2 separate regions of the Homo sapiens genome follow, and region 1 is linked to region 2. Evidence: promoter capture Hi-C in 16 types of primary human blood cells and fetal thymus (Javierre and others, 2016). All regions are on one chromosome and are shown on one strand. Each heading gives the region's core, a stretch centred on a gene start or on the middle of the fragment in contact. The rest is flanking DNA. Distances are from core to core; before and after follow the strand shown. Region 1 holds the start of LTV1 (LTV1 ribosome biogenesis factor). Region 2 holds the start of SHPRH (SNF2 histone linker PHD RING helicase).

Region 1 (7,370 bases), core at 4,480-6,979, 2.1 Mb before region 2:
GGGCTCACTAATGAAATTTTAATTGTTTTATTTTTACCAGCAGCGTTACATTGAACATCCTGGTACATCCATTTTGCTGCACTTTTCCTTTTTATAAACTAAGTACCGGCTGGGTGCGGTGGCTCACACCTGTAATCACAGCACTTTGGGAAGCTGAGTTGGGGAGATCACTTGAGATCAGGAGTCTGAGACCAGCCTGGCCAATATGGTGACATCCCATCTTTACTAAAAATACAAAAATTAGCCAGGTGTGGTGGTGGACACTTGTAGTCCCAGCTACTTGAGGGACTGAGGCACAAAAATCGCTTGAGCCAGGGAGGCGGAGGTTGCAGTGAGCCGAGATCATGTAACTGCACTCCAGCCTGGGCAACAGAGCAAGATTCCATCTCAAAACACAAAAATAAAATAAGTACCTCCATAAGCTTTATTAGGATTTTCAAACATGTAATTTATAACTCCTAGAAGTTACTGCTTCAGGTTCTAATTAGTTTTCTCGGCACTTCTGTGTACATTGGCTTCCTGGTGCTTGGGACTCCTTGAGTGATGTTGACGGAAGAGGGAGAACCAGTGAATGTGATATGAATGCGAATAAAACCATAATTTCAATGGCTTAGTTCCATATAAAAAATTTTTAAAAACTTATTCAAAGCCTAGACTAAGCCAGAAATTCTGTTTAATCACTTTAACATGGACACCAGTAATTAGAGCATACTAAAAGAGTAGAAGTATTGCTTGAATTTATTATCATTACTATAATATTTCAATTATTTTTGCTTTCACTGGAGGCGAATAACATTTTTCTACATTAAGACAGCACTCGGAACAGTCTCTGACACATATAAGCTCATGTTATATGTTGGAGTATTTTGTAACAAGGTGGTTTTCTGAAACGGGGTGTACAGTACTGTAATGGTAGGGTGTGACTCCGAAGCTACAACTGAGTTCACATTCTGGCTTCCTCACTTATGGACTTTGTACCCTGGGGCAAAAGTCACTTAACTTTCTGTTCTGTAATCTCTGCTGAGTAGAAAAGGGTAATTGCATGTCTACTTAAATCTGCTATAAGGATTTAATGAGTAAATGTAGGTAAAATACTTGGAACAGTGCAATTATTATTGAGCCTTTACTATGCTAGGCCCTAAAGACGTTCAAGTCAGCAAGACAAGGATCCTTGCTTTTGAGTAGGTGACTGCAGTCTGGTTCTAGAGATAGATGAAAATAAGAATTCACAATTCAGCATAACTGAGTAGAGTAGTGTGTACAGGATACAGTGAGAACATTCGGAATGATCCCCAGTTTTGAAGAGTATGAAAATGTTTCCTAGAGGCAGAGATGGTGTAGGGTCCCTCAGAGCCCCCCACTTTCTTTCTGTGTCCTGACTAACATAGAGTGCCTCGACCACTCTGTGACCTGGCCAGCTGCATGGGTTTTTTTTTTCCCCCTGTAGGCTTAAAGTTAAGCCTGGGCCTTGAACATTCCCAGGCACTGATAAAGTTGTGTAGGCTATTGCTTCAAACACTGAAAGATCAAAATATGTTACTAAACACATAGAAACTAGCCCCAGCCCTAAGCCAAATTCCCTAAACCCTCACAAACTCCATAACCTGACTTCTCACTGCTGGCATACCTACGTAGAAACATCTCTTTTCGCCCTGTCCACTTAAGCACTCTGTATGTAACTTCTCTAATAAATGCTTTGGACTGATCACCCCAGCGTTTATTGCTTCTTTCTTTGGAATTCTGTCCAGCCCCATCTCGGGATGGTTTGGGGCAGTCCTTCACAGGAATTCCCCTCCTACCCCTTTTGGGTCAACTTAGCTTCAGCTAGACTTGGGTTCAGCCAGAAAAAACAGATGGCTAAACTAGGACTTGGCAAACAAGGAGAGGAGAGAAAGAAAGAGCCTTTTAGATGGGCAGGAGAGAGCCAATGTCTTTCAGGTACATTTGGGAACTGCACAGTTTCACAGGGCTGGATCATGAGTGGAATGTGGGGGAGTAAGGAGACATAGTGTTAAACTGATGGCTGGAGACCAGAAGATATAAAATCTTGGTTGCTCTGCAAAAATAGTTTATCCTGAAGCCCAAGGGTAGACATCAAGGGATTTTTTTTTTTTTTTGAGATGGGGTCTCGCTCTGTTGCCCAAGCTGGAGTGCAGTGGCATGGTCTTGACTCAGTGCACCCTCTGCCTCCTGGGTACGAGCAATTTTCCTGCCTCAAACTCCCAAGTAGTTGGAACTACAGGTGTGTGCCACCATGCCTGGCTAATTTTTGTATTTTTTAGTAGAGACAGGGTTTTGCTATGTTGGCCAGGCTGATCTTGAACTCCTGGCCTCAGGTGATCCGCCTGTCTTGGCCTCCCAAAGTGCTGGGATTACAGGTGTGTGCCACCACGCCTGGCCCATCGAAGGATTTTATACAGGAAAGTGACTTGAGTTTAAAATGATAAATTTGATAAAATGAATAACGAAGTGATACATGTGGATATTTAGAAAGCAGGATGAACAAAATTTGCTGGTTGACTGCCTCAGGGAGGTAGTATAGTATATGGATAAGGGAATGGCCTTCCTAAACAAGCCTGATGGACTACACTTCTAGGCTTTTCTACTTACTGTGTGACCTTAAGTAAATAACTTCAATTCTCTGAACCTCAGATTTCACATCTGCAAGATTGGTTTAGTGTCATTTAATTGTACTTCACTGGCTTGCTGAGGGAATTAGACATCATGAATAAAAAGTGCTTAGCACTGTGTGTTTAGTGTTTAGAATGACAAATATATAAAGTAAGCAGGCTGGCCACAGTGGCCTGTAATCCCAACACTTTGGAAGGCTGTGGTGAGAGGCTCACTTGAGTCCAGGCGTTCAAGACTAGTCTGGGCAACACAGTGAGACCCCTATCTCTACAAAAAATAAAAACATTAGCCGGGCATAGTGGCACACACCTGTGGTCCCAGCTACTCAGCAGGCTGAGGTTAGAGGATTGCTTGAGCCCAGGAGGTCAAGCTGCAGTGAGCCATGTTTACACCGCTGCACTCCAGCCTGGTTGACAGAGCAAGATCCTGTCTCAGAAAAAACAAAGCAGAATATTACTCAGAAGAAAAAAACAAACAAGCAACATGATTAGGTGGCCAGGCTCTAGTTAGGCTCCTTAGGTTTAAATCTCTGCTCTGCCATTTACTAGTGATATGACCTTAAGAAAGGGTATCAGTCCGTTCCCACACTGCTGATAAAGACATACCGGAGGCTGGGTAATTTACAAAGAAAAAGAGGCTTAATGGACTCAGAGTTCCAAGTGGTAAGGAGGCCTCACAATCATGGTGGAAGGCGAAAGGCATGTCTTACATGGCAGCAGGCAAAAGAGAATGAGAGCCAAGTGAAAGGGGAAACCTCTTACAAAACCATCAGACCTCATGAGACTTATTCACTTCCATGAGAACAGTATGGGGAAAACTGCCCCCATGATTCAATTATCTCCCACTGGGTCCCTCTTACAACACATGGGAATTATGAGAGCTATGATTCAAGATGAGATTTGGGTGGCGACACAACCAAACCAAGGTGGGGACACAGCCAAACCATATCAGAAGGTAACTTTCTTATGCTTTTGACCTAAAGAACGATGAGGTGCATAAGGGTTTCAGCCTGCAGAGTGGCCTGACAGGCTGGGAAGCGTAGCCTCCAGCCTGAAGCCAAAAACATACATTCTGAGGGAGGGACAAAGTGAGAGGAAGCAGGGTGGCAGAATATACATATTTAATAAGCTATAGGAGGAATCATGAATATTTATGAAAGGAGAAACATGTACATGTGCAATTGAGCTTCATTGCCCCTTCATGGGTCCTAGGTACAAACAATGGGGCATCAGCATGATCTGAAGAGTTTTCAGCCTCTGATGTCAAAAGGTGAAGTAGAGGCCAATAAAACCCTTACTGTGCCTGCTCCGTAGATTGGCCAGAACCATTCCATAGTGGGTAGTCTGTTACGCACAAAACGGAGGGCAGCAACAGGCTGATATCAGTGGTGGAGTCTTTTGAAAGGGATGGTTTCTATTTATCCCTTAGGGAAGAAAGCCTGATCCTGGTTAGTGAGGGAGGGGATATAACAAGGCAAAGCAAGAACTCAGTTTTCAAGGTTACTCTGGGTCCCCTTGGCCAAAAGGGAGTCCGTTCAGTCAGCTGGGGGGCTTAGTACTTAGTTTGTATTTCTCTTGCCTCATTTTTAGGATTTGTAAGATGCTGAAGATAATTGCGTCTCTTTCATAGTGTTGCAGTGAGGATGAAATGAGATGATTCAGATAAAGTGCCAGAACATTAATTCATTTAAATAAATACTTACTGAGCATATATGCCCCATGCATCAGGCCCCTGATGATACAGCAGTAAGTACAACTGATTGAAAGGAAATGAAAACTGCCCCCTTGGATCTTTTAATTCTATATAATGAATAATAACAACGAATCTCTGGCACATAGGAGTGCTATGTATTATCTCTGTTACAAAGCAATATCCTAAGACAAGTTTTATGGTCCTAACCTAAATTATTTCTATATATATATATTTTTGAGACAGAGTTTCGCTCTTGTCGCCCAGGCTGGAGTGCAATGGCATGATCTCAGCTCACTGCAACCTCTGCCTCCCGGGTTCAAGCTATTCTCCTGCCTCAACCTCCCAAGTAGTTGGGATTACAGGCACCTGCCATCACACCTGGCTAAGTTTTGTATTTTTAGTAGAGACGGGGTTTCACCACGTTGGCTAGTCTGGTCTTGAACTCCTGACCTCAGGTGATCCACCCGCTTCGGCCTCCCAAAGTGCTGGGATGACAGACATGAGCCACCGCGCCTGGCCTATTTCTATAATTTTTACTGTAATAAAAGAATAATACTCCACAAATACTTACAGTGATAATGCCTACGGCATAAAGACACAATCCAGGGTAAGCCATTCATTGAGAGGTCACCAGAAACTGGGAAGTTGGGGAAACAAATTTGAAAAAAAGGTCTGCTGATGAAAGTGACTGCATTTACCACACACTTTCGTCCAAGAAAAGCTATGTGAGTACGCCAACGCCGGCCTGAAATCTTCCTAAGAATGCGTGCTTATAGCCTATTTGTTTAAACAGGGGGAGAAAGTTAACATTCAAACACCAGAGATTCTGAATATATTTTATTAGTTCAAATGCCTCTACAGTTAACAGAGTCTCGGGGGTTTGGTTAACAGGGCAGATGAAAGCAGTTCATGAAACAGTGGAAAATATAACCTGATCAAGTCTGATGCAGTCTATAAAGGCAAGGCCCCAGCCTCCGTTGCTACGGCAACCGACTCCGCCCCCACCCGGAGAGGGAACCTGAAACTTGGCGACCCCAGCACCCCAGCGGGGTGGTCGCCTCCCTTCCGTGTCCGCGGCTTTGTTTTTTATGGTTGGGAATAGGTAAGGGACACAAGTCAAGGGGGATGCTAGATTCGTCCCCTCTGGTCTCCGTAGAGGGAGCTATAAAAGGTTCGTCCACAAGCAGAAACCCCTCTGTGGCGCCTCAACGTTAAGGACCCCCACGATTCCCTTTGCCCGGCGGGAGACTAAAGGCCGGAAAAGTACAGCCCGCCCAGGGGTGGGAGCCGAGCTAGCCCCACCTCCCGGTGGCTTCTCGCGATCGTGGAGACGCAGCGAGCCTATGTAACTTCCGGTCGCGACCCATCAGCTCCTCGGCGATTGGTCCGTTTCCACGGCCGGCTGGGTGACGTTATCGCCGGGTCCTGGGGCTGCACGTGTGGTGAGGCCTACAGAAGCGGCCTTCAGCTGGACCTTGGTCTCCCCGCCGGACTTCGAGGGTGTCATCGCCGCCCCTGTTGGGGGTGAGCGCCGCGCGGCTGCAGCATGGTGAGCAAGCCTTGCTTGTTTCGGCGGCCGAGCGCTGTGGTTTTGCAGAGGCCAGGCTGCTTCCGGTAATACCTTGGCTACTGCGGCCCGGGTCTGGGTCATGCCAGAGGCTGCTTGCGGCACGGTACCCCGAAATGGGCCAACGTCACCACCGTGGGCATTCTTTGCAAGTTACAGTCTCCCACCGCCGAGCCTCCCTGGGATGTGGCCCGGAGAGGAGAATGGCCTTTTTGTTTTATCCCTGGGAGCCTGCAGCCCTGCGTGATTTCGGTTAACTAAAAGCTGGTGACTGCCGACACAAACGCGCAACCCTGTGCTTCTTGGGGTCGAGCAGAGGGAGCTGCTGGTCTCCCTCAGCGTTGGAGTGGCAGGTGTCTGCCTGTCTGTTTCCTCTGAGAAAGGGAACTTGTGGGAGAGCATAAGGTTGGGCCCAAAGTAAAGCCACTTAATTGGTTTCCCAGTTTAGAGAATCAAAATTGAATAGCGAAGTAAGAATGTAGAAAGAGGTGATGGATCTTATTAAACTTTAGCTGTTTGTGTCGTGATTTTATTTACTGGTTGGTAGATGCTCTGTGTGGAGCTGTCTACTCCAGATTATGTTGTGGCAGGCTTCTTGTCATTCTAGTTCAGTCGGCCAGGGGCCTTCCCTGAGCAGCCAGTGTAAAGTAGCTTTTAAGGCATTTTCACGTCACTGTCTTATATTTTCTTCACCGGAAATTATCTTGATTTTCTTGCTAAGAACAGGGACTTTATCTGACTTTCCCACTTCTGTATTCTCAGTTCCCATAACAAGGTCTGGCACAAAGTAGGTGCTCAAGGAATGTTTGTTGAAGGAAGGTTAAGTATGGATTCTGCAGAACACAGCTGATGTTGCCTGCCCTAGAAGTGTAGATTTTTAAAAAGTATCTTTAACATGACTACTAAAGATGCATGTGTGGACTATGGAATTATTCTCCGTCTTTTTGTTCTGTTTTAATTAATTGTTGTGATTTTGTTCCTTTGAAGCCTCACAGGAAGAAAAAGCCCTTTATAGAGAAGAAGAAAGCTGTGTCTTTTCACTTGGTCCACCGGAGCCAACGAGATCCTTTAGCAGCAGATGAGAGTGCACCCCAGAGGGTTCTATTGCCCACACAAAAAGTAGGTCCTGTTCTTTAGCCAGTCAGTTTGTAGGTAGACAATAGTTTTTTTTTTCTTTTTTTTTTTTTAAATAAATAGAGTCTTAGCACGTTGCCCAGGCTGGTCTCGAACTCCTGGACTTAAGCAGTCCTCCCAGCTTGGCCTCCAAAAGTGCTGGGATTACAGGCATGAGCCACCACGCCTTGCTATGTTAATAGTTTTTAATAAATTGTTAGCCAGCTGTTATTCTCAGATAACTGATATTCTGGGAAATAATCTATAAGTTAATTTTCAGTACAATTGGTGATTTTTACATCATTCACATTATTTTGATTGGGAAGACAAAGATCTTTATTTGAGATGTTTAAACGAGCAAATCTTG
Region 2 (7,359 bases), core at 594-3,093:
ACTGTATCTTTAACAGAAAACAAGGATGGAATGCTAGAAAAATAAACATAAAATGTTACATTACTAAGACAATCCAACAAATGAATAACACAACTTAAATTCACATTTTTTCCCTCCAAAATATTATTTCCTCTTTAAAAGATACACACAAATCTTGAATTACAACAAATCCATGGTAGATCTGGGTTTAGGCTATTAAGGGCAAAAAGGATTACATACTTGCCATATTCCTGTCCAAAATGTTGTGTTATGGAAATGAAGCCCACTCATTACTAAGTACTAGGAAGCTCTTAATGACCCAGGGTTAACATAATCTTTTCCTTTTCTGTAGAAATAATTCCAGCAAGGTGAGAGTATTTTCTTCTACTGAATGCTAAAATATGCTAGTTACATAAACTTTAAAAATGCCCTCATAAGAAGCTTTTTCACCAGCAAATTGTTTCCCCTAAATCTTACTGGCCTAAACTCTTAATAATAAAAGTTTTGTTTTAATAATTCTGTAAGTCCAGCTCCTTTCGGGTGGACAAAGAGGATATACAAGAGCATCTCTCAAAAGTAAACTATTTTATTCTCAATTGCCAGCTTACTGGTTAACTGGTCCTTTAAAGCTCTAGAAAGTGCAGGTTATCGAGCACAGACATAATCATTACAATACTGCTCAGGACTGCTCTGTCTCCAGCATGTTTACTAATCATAAACTAAATAGTCTTTTTTGTGACAGTAGAGATATCATGGATCGTTTCTATTCAAGAGTTTCATCATTCCTACTAATGCCCACTGGAATAATTTAAAGTAACAGTAATAACTTTATCTTATTTTGTTCAGAAAAAGCCCCAAGTTCCTTAAGTTCCTTAAGTACAAGTTGGAAGGCATCAAACATCTCGGATTTCTACCTCGTGCTAATGTCAAACTACTTGGAAAAAGGGCACAAGCTTCCTGGTCATTATTTAACTGATCATTATACAGTGACTATTAATCATCAAATAACACCCTATCTTCGTTCATAAACATAGCAACTACCAGTCAAACTGTACAATGTCAAAGAGTGGTTCTGAATTCGAATGTAATTAATCTGGCTCCAAAGGTAACGGAGAACTTTGAGTGGGACTGAGAAACCTCTGCCTCCCCTTTTACTAATACAATGCCGCGCACAAAGAAGGGAGGCGGCGACCCAGTTCCAGCCTCCGGGGGTAGATCTGCGGCGCACGGTACCCACTCAGTTATCTTCCGAAAGACCCACAAGCGGCTCCCGGAGTCTGAGCGGGGCTGTCAGCGCCGGATCGCTCCCAGCAGGCCGAGCAAACAAGCGACCGCGAGGCCAAGGAGCGTGACGACGGACTCCCGGATCCTAGTGTGTTGGACGCTCGAGACAAACACCGCAGGCCCCAGTGCATGAGGAGAAGCACAGCCTCCTTTCCCACGACCCCACTTTATCCCCGGAGGGACGTGGTGGTCCGAAGTTCGCTAGTCCGGGATCGGGAAGAGGTGGGGAAGACTCGCGCAGCGGCTCCCTCTCAGCCCTTGAGCTTCCCGGGCTCCAGGACAACCAGCGTCCTCCCTCCCTGGTCCCGGAGGCCAAAGACCACCTCCCTCCCTCCCTCCCGACCTCTGACCCCTGACCTTCCATCACCCAAGCGCCTACCCAAGCTGGTTCTCCGAGCCTCTTGAGTCTGTTTGCACCAGGCCTGCGCTCCTCTACAGACCCAGCAGATCACGGGCACGCATTCGCCACCCACCGAACATGGGCTTGAGGTGGGCACGAGCGCTTTTTGCCGGAACGTGTAGGGGTCCCCCGGGAGACCCAGAAACCACAGCGCCTAGCTGCCGGGCGCGCGCTGTAGCGTGGGGTCAAGGCGAACGCGCTCGTCAGAGCACCCCGCCCCCTTTCTCCTGCGCTGGCTTCATGAGTCTCTTCTGCGCAAGTTCACACTGTTAAAAACTTGCTGAGGATACAGTGGAGTCTCGCGATAGCTCTGCCCCACGCCATTAGAGAACACAGGATGGCCGAATGCCCGAAGTAGGGGGCGGGGCTCCCCTTGAAGCGAAGGGCGTGTGTGATTTGTATCTCTAATAAAAAGGCAGGGGCCAGGAGCGGTGGCTCACGCCTGTAATCCCACCACTTTGGGAGGCCGAGGCGGGCGGATTTCCTGAGGTCAGGAGTTGGAGAACAGCCTGGCCAAGATAGCGAAACCCCGTCTCTACTAAAAATACAAAAATTAGCCGGGCGTTGTGGTGCGCGCCTGTAGTACCCGCCTGTAGTCCCAGCTGCTCGGGAGGCTGAAGCAGGAGAATGCTTGAACCTGCGAGGCAGAGATTGAGTAAGCCGACATCTCCCCACTGGGTGATAGAATGAGACTCCGTCTCACAAAAGAAAAGCAGAAAAGAATTCTGCAAAAGCATCTATTTTACTGCTATAAAGCAGCCACTAAGTAGGTACGAATAAAGCTTCTCCCCCTCAAAAACAGACTTTAAAGGGAAATGTGAATAAATATTCAAAGATGAGAGAAACTATTAAATACATGTGTTGCGCTGAAGCTGGCCTTCCACTATTGGTCTTTTTTCCTCTCACCTCTTCCTCATAGAAGTGACCTTAATGTTGGAATAACTCTGAGAGGCTTCAGGGTCAGGAGCCTGTGAAATAACCCTCAGGAAACACTGGGGACTCAGTACTTAGTTAGTGAGTACCTAATAGCAGCTTTTCTGCTGTGGAGGCCTTTTGGGTTGTGTGACCACAGAAGCACTTGAACTAAGTTCTTGTCCAAGTGAATATCGGTTGTAGTTGTGTTAGACAGTCCAGGGTAGTCCATATTTTACTTAGTATATTCCTTTATCACAGATACGAAGCTGTTTCCATAAGCAAATCCCCGCCTCCTTTTATTTTGCTTCCCTTTATTGTACTTTGCAGATAATATGTTTTCCTATAAATTGAAGTTTTTTGGCAACCTTACTCAAGCAAGTCTGTCAGCATCATTTTTCAAGCAGCATGTGTTCACTTGCTGTTCATCTGTTATGGTGATCTATGATTAGTTATCTTTGATGTTACTATTGTAGTTTTTTGGGAGCATTACAAACTCTGCTCATAGAAGATGCTAAACTTAATAAATGTTGTGTGTGTTCTGAAAGCTTCACTATTGGCGCCTGTCTCTCTTCCTCTCTTCAGGCCTCCCTATTCTTTGAGACACAACAATATTGAAATTAGGCCAATTAATAACCCTACAATGGACTATTAAGTGTTCAAGTAAAAGGAAGGGTGGCACATCTCTCACTTTAAATCGAAAACCGAAGGAATTTAGTGAGGAAGCCATGTCAAAAGCTGAGATAAGCCAAAAGCTAGGCCTCTTGTACCAAAGTTAGCTAAGTTGTGAATGCAAAGGAAAAGTTCTAGAAGGGAATTAAAAGTGCTACTCCAATGAAAACACAAATGATAAGAAAACGAAACAGCCTCATGCTGATATGGAAAAAGTTTTAGTGGCCTGAATAAAAGATAAAACCAGCCTCAGCATTCCCTTAAGCCAAAGCCTAATCCAGAGCAAGGCCCTAACTTTTTTCAGTTCTGTGAAGGCTGAGAGAGGTGATGAAGCTGTAGCAGAAAAATGTGAAGCAAGCAGAGGTTGGTTCATGAGATTTAAGAAAAGAAGCCATCTCCATAACATCAAAGTACAAGGTGAAGGAGCAAGTGCTGATGTAGAAGCTGTGGCAAGTTTTTCAGAAGATCTAGCTAAAATAATTGAAGCAGGTGGCCACACAAAACAACAGATTTTCCATGTAGATAAGACAGCTTTCTATAGAAAGAAAAGGCCATCTAGGACTTTCATAGCTTCTAAGCTTCACAGGACAGGTTGACTCTCTTGTTAGGGGCTAATGCAGCTAATGACTTGAATTTGAGGCCAATACTCATTTATCATTCTGAAACTCCTAGGGCCCTAAAGAGTTATGCTAAATCTATTCTGTCTGTACTCTATAAATGGAACAATGAAGTGTGGATGACAGCACATCTACTTAACAGCATAGATGTACAGGATATTTTAAGCCCACTGTTCAGACCTACTGCTCAGAAAAAAAAAAGATTCCTTTCAAAATATTACTGCTCATTTATAATGCACCTGGTCACCCAAGAGCTCTGATGGAGATGTACAAGGAGATTAATGTTGTTTTCATGCCTGTTAACACAAAACCCATTCTGCAGCCCATGGATCAAGAGTAATTTTAACTTTGACATCTTATTATTTAAGAAGTAATAAGGCTATGGATGACATAGATAGGAATTCTTCTGATAGATCTAGACAAAGTAAATTAAAAACTTCTGGAAAACATCCACCATTCTGTATGTCATTAACAACATTTGAGATTGGTGGGAGAGGTCAAAATATCATTAATAGTAGTTTAGAAGAAGTTGATTCCATCTCTCAGGAACTCAAAGTCTCAGCTTTGAAGGGATTGAGACTTCAATGGAGGAAGTAACTGCAGATGTGGTGGAAACAGCAAGAGAGCTAGAATTAGAAGTGGGGTCTGAAGATATGACAGAACTGCTGCAATCTCATAGTAAAACTTTAATGGATGAAGAGTTACTTCTTATAGATAAGCCAAGAAACTGGTTTCCTGAGATGGAATATACTCCTGGGAAGATACTGTGAACGTTGTTGAAATGACAGCAAAGATTTTAAAATATTTCATAAATTTAGTGGACAAAGCAGTCCAGAGTTTAAGGGGATTGACTTGAGTTTTGAAAGAAGTTCTACTGTTGGTAAAATGCTATCAAAGAGCAGTTCATATCATGGAGGAATATTTTGTGAAATAAAGAGTCAATTGCTGCAGCCAACTTTTTTAAGCAATATTTTTTAAGCAAGATTTTTTTTAGCAATACAATATTTTTTAAGTTAAGGTAGATACTTTTTTTAGACATAATGCTATTGCACACTTAACACACTACATTGTAGTGTCAGTGTCACTTTTATATGCACTGGGAAACAAAAAAAATATCCTGTGACTTACTTTATTGCAATATTTGCCTTATTGTGGTAGCCTGGAACAAAACTTGTGATATCTCCAAGGTATGCCTATAGATGGAAATCAGTTACCTTATTCCAGGATTTATGAGGCAAGCTGGAAAAAGTAGTGCTAATGCTGGAACAGTGGGCAAGTAGGATCCTCCTTCCTTGGCAAACCAATCATTTTATCAAATACAAGGTGATGTAACCTTGCTTCTGAAAGTGTAATTTGCAACTTGCTATTTAAACATATGATGTGCTGAGTAAGGTTATCTTTGATAGTTTTATGTCACTTCTCATCATTGGAGCAGATAATTAGGCCCAAAGTTTGGCTGAGTCTATCCAACTAGTGCTAGGCAGAAATATTTAAAAATAAGCACAGCATCATTTCACCTTTGTTCACCTTGATTGGGGTAATTTATATATGTAATCATGGTAATGTCCATGCAAGATATTAAACTTCAGATCCAGTTGTCTGTCGTATGGAGATGCAATTTCAACTGTAGAGATGGAATTCTGTATACTACCATTCAGTGATTAGAATGAAACAAAATTCTTTTAAATTTTCCAGTGTTCAATCCTATATTTACCAAATGCTCTGCCTATTCTTTGAAAAATTTCTCTCTGGAATAATATTTTTCATCAGAGCTAATTTCAGAAAACATGGTTCATGATTGCACCTTGGCTCTCTGGCAGCTCCCAGCTGTGAGACACCTGTTCACCCCTGAGTACACTGAGTTCATCCACCTATTAGATGCTAGTGATCTAATGACATTCCGCAAATCAGAATGAACTGATTGGACATCGTGCATCTTGACAGTGAATAACTCAGTGTTCACGGAGTTCATCTGCTCCTTCTTGAAACTATAACATGAGATCAGTCAGACCACTTTCTTCCTTGTATGGTCTCACTAGCTTTAGCTGTAGGTTCATTTTCTTTTAGGGACAGTGGCTTTATTCTAGCCATACCCCTAACTGGGGCATCTATTTTACAAATGAATATTCTAAGTTGTTCTCAAGGAGGAGGACTAGTTGAGAGGGAGTAGAGGAGTTAAGACAAATTTAACTCCCTTTAGGGACAGAAACAAGATAAATGATGATTTATCAGTGAAGAACTTTATATTTTGCAAAGCCCTTTTATGTTTATTTTTTTATTTGATCCCTAGACTAGTAATAGGCTTTTAAAATTTCCATTTTACAGGAGAGCAATCTGAGACTCAGAAATTTGGTAATTTGCCACAATTTAGCTGTAAGAGAACAAGAGGACCTAAAACTCTTTATTCCTCTGTCTAGGCTATTGTCTCTTATTACTAAATCATGTTGTCTATCAAATAAAAATATACAACTTAGTCCTCAAACTTACTAAGTAATCATGGGCAAACTGAAGGCAAGAGGTGTGTCATTACTTAATGACATAGGGCTTGTATATCAACAATAAGGATCATTCAGTACAAACACTGTGTTCTCCTGAATAGATCATTAACAAAATGACTAGAGAAATTTATTCTGTATTCTACCTACCTTTGCCAGCTCTCTGGAAACAAAGTAGGTGGCCCACCCAGTATGATTGGGGATTCCCAAAGATGACTCCTTGTTGCCAATTCCTACTACCAACCTGTCTTGGGACTGCTTTCCCTTCTGACAAATTGAAAATATTAGGATCAAAGTCTCCGCTATTCTGGAATGAATTACAACGTCCAAAACCACTGGTAGAATGCATGTAGTACCAAAAAAAGAGTGGGAAGAAGAAACATGGTCTTGGAAAATTGGTGCTAGCAGGGGTCATCAGCTATGCTGAAAGGAGTGGTATCAGATCAACCAAACATAAAATGGTACCAAGGGTCGGACATGCTTTGCAGGAGCATGAGCAGGATATATCAGGGACAGGAGGTGTGCGAATTGAACCCAAATCCTCATATTTAGAACTTTACAGCTTTTCCCTAGACTAGACCTGGGTAGATTTAATTGTTAATTTTGTTTCATTTTTCCTTGATGATTTACAAGTTGGATTGGTTTCAAGCCCAAAGTTTGTTCGGTCTCCCCTGCTGCAAGCTCAGCCTGAAAACTAAAACCTCAAGCTGTGTTCCTTCTGCCTCTCATAACTTCTAAAGCAAAACTTGTAGTCTGTACACAAAATGCTGCAATGGACATGAACCTATGACAGTGTTTGTTTTAGGTGTGAATAAAGCAACGATTTAAATTAGGTAAAAGCAAGAAGGTTGAAGGTGAATCTGCTGGTAAGGAAAGATAGGAGATTATATTCAGTGTTTAACAATGAAGATAGTATAATCTGTATCATAGGCTCTCCTTCCCACCATCCCAGAGCCTCCCCACCCTCCATACCCAACTGTTACATTTTCCCCTAAGGCAT

Evidence for each region. The method cuts DNA at HindIII sites, captures the fragments that hold promoters and counts their contacts. A CHiCAGO score of 5 or more calls a contact.
Region 1: the fragment with the promoter of LTV1 here is called in contact with the fragment with the promoter of SHPRH in region 2 in 1 of 17 cell types (total B cells); the score reaches 7.0 in total B cells.

What each region holds. Positions count from the first base shown.
Region 1 is chr6:143,837,609-143,844,978 of GRCh38, forward strand. LTV1 (LTV1 ribosome biogenesis factor) reads left to right here and starts at 5,730. Exons shown (of 11, transcript NM_032860.5): 1 at 5,730-5,872; 2 at 6,878-7,009. The coding sequence starts at 5,870. RefSeq lists enhancers at 5,534-5,583, 5,764-5,973, 6,164-6,233. The HindIII fragment of the contact is 13,446 bases long and covers 421-7,370 here.
Region 2 is chr6:145,962,515-145,969,873 of GRCh38, forward strand. SHPRH (SNF2 histone linker PHD RING helicase) reads right to left here and starts at 1,844. Exons shown (of 30, transcript NM_001042683.3): 1 at 1,217-1,844. RefSeq lists enhancers at 1,361-1,490, 1,601-1,820, 1,732-2,719, 2,271-2,320. The HindIII fragment of the contact is 1,513 bases long and covers 931-2,443 here.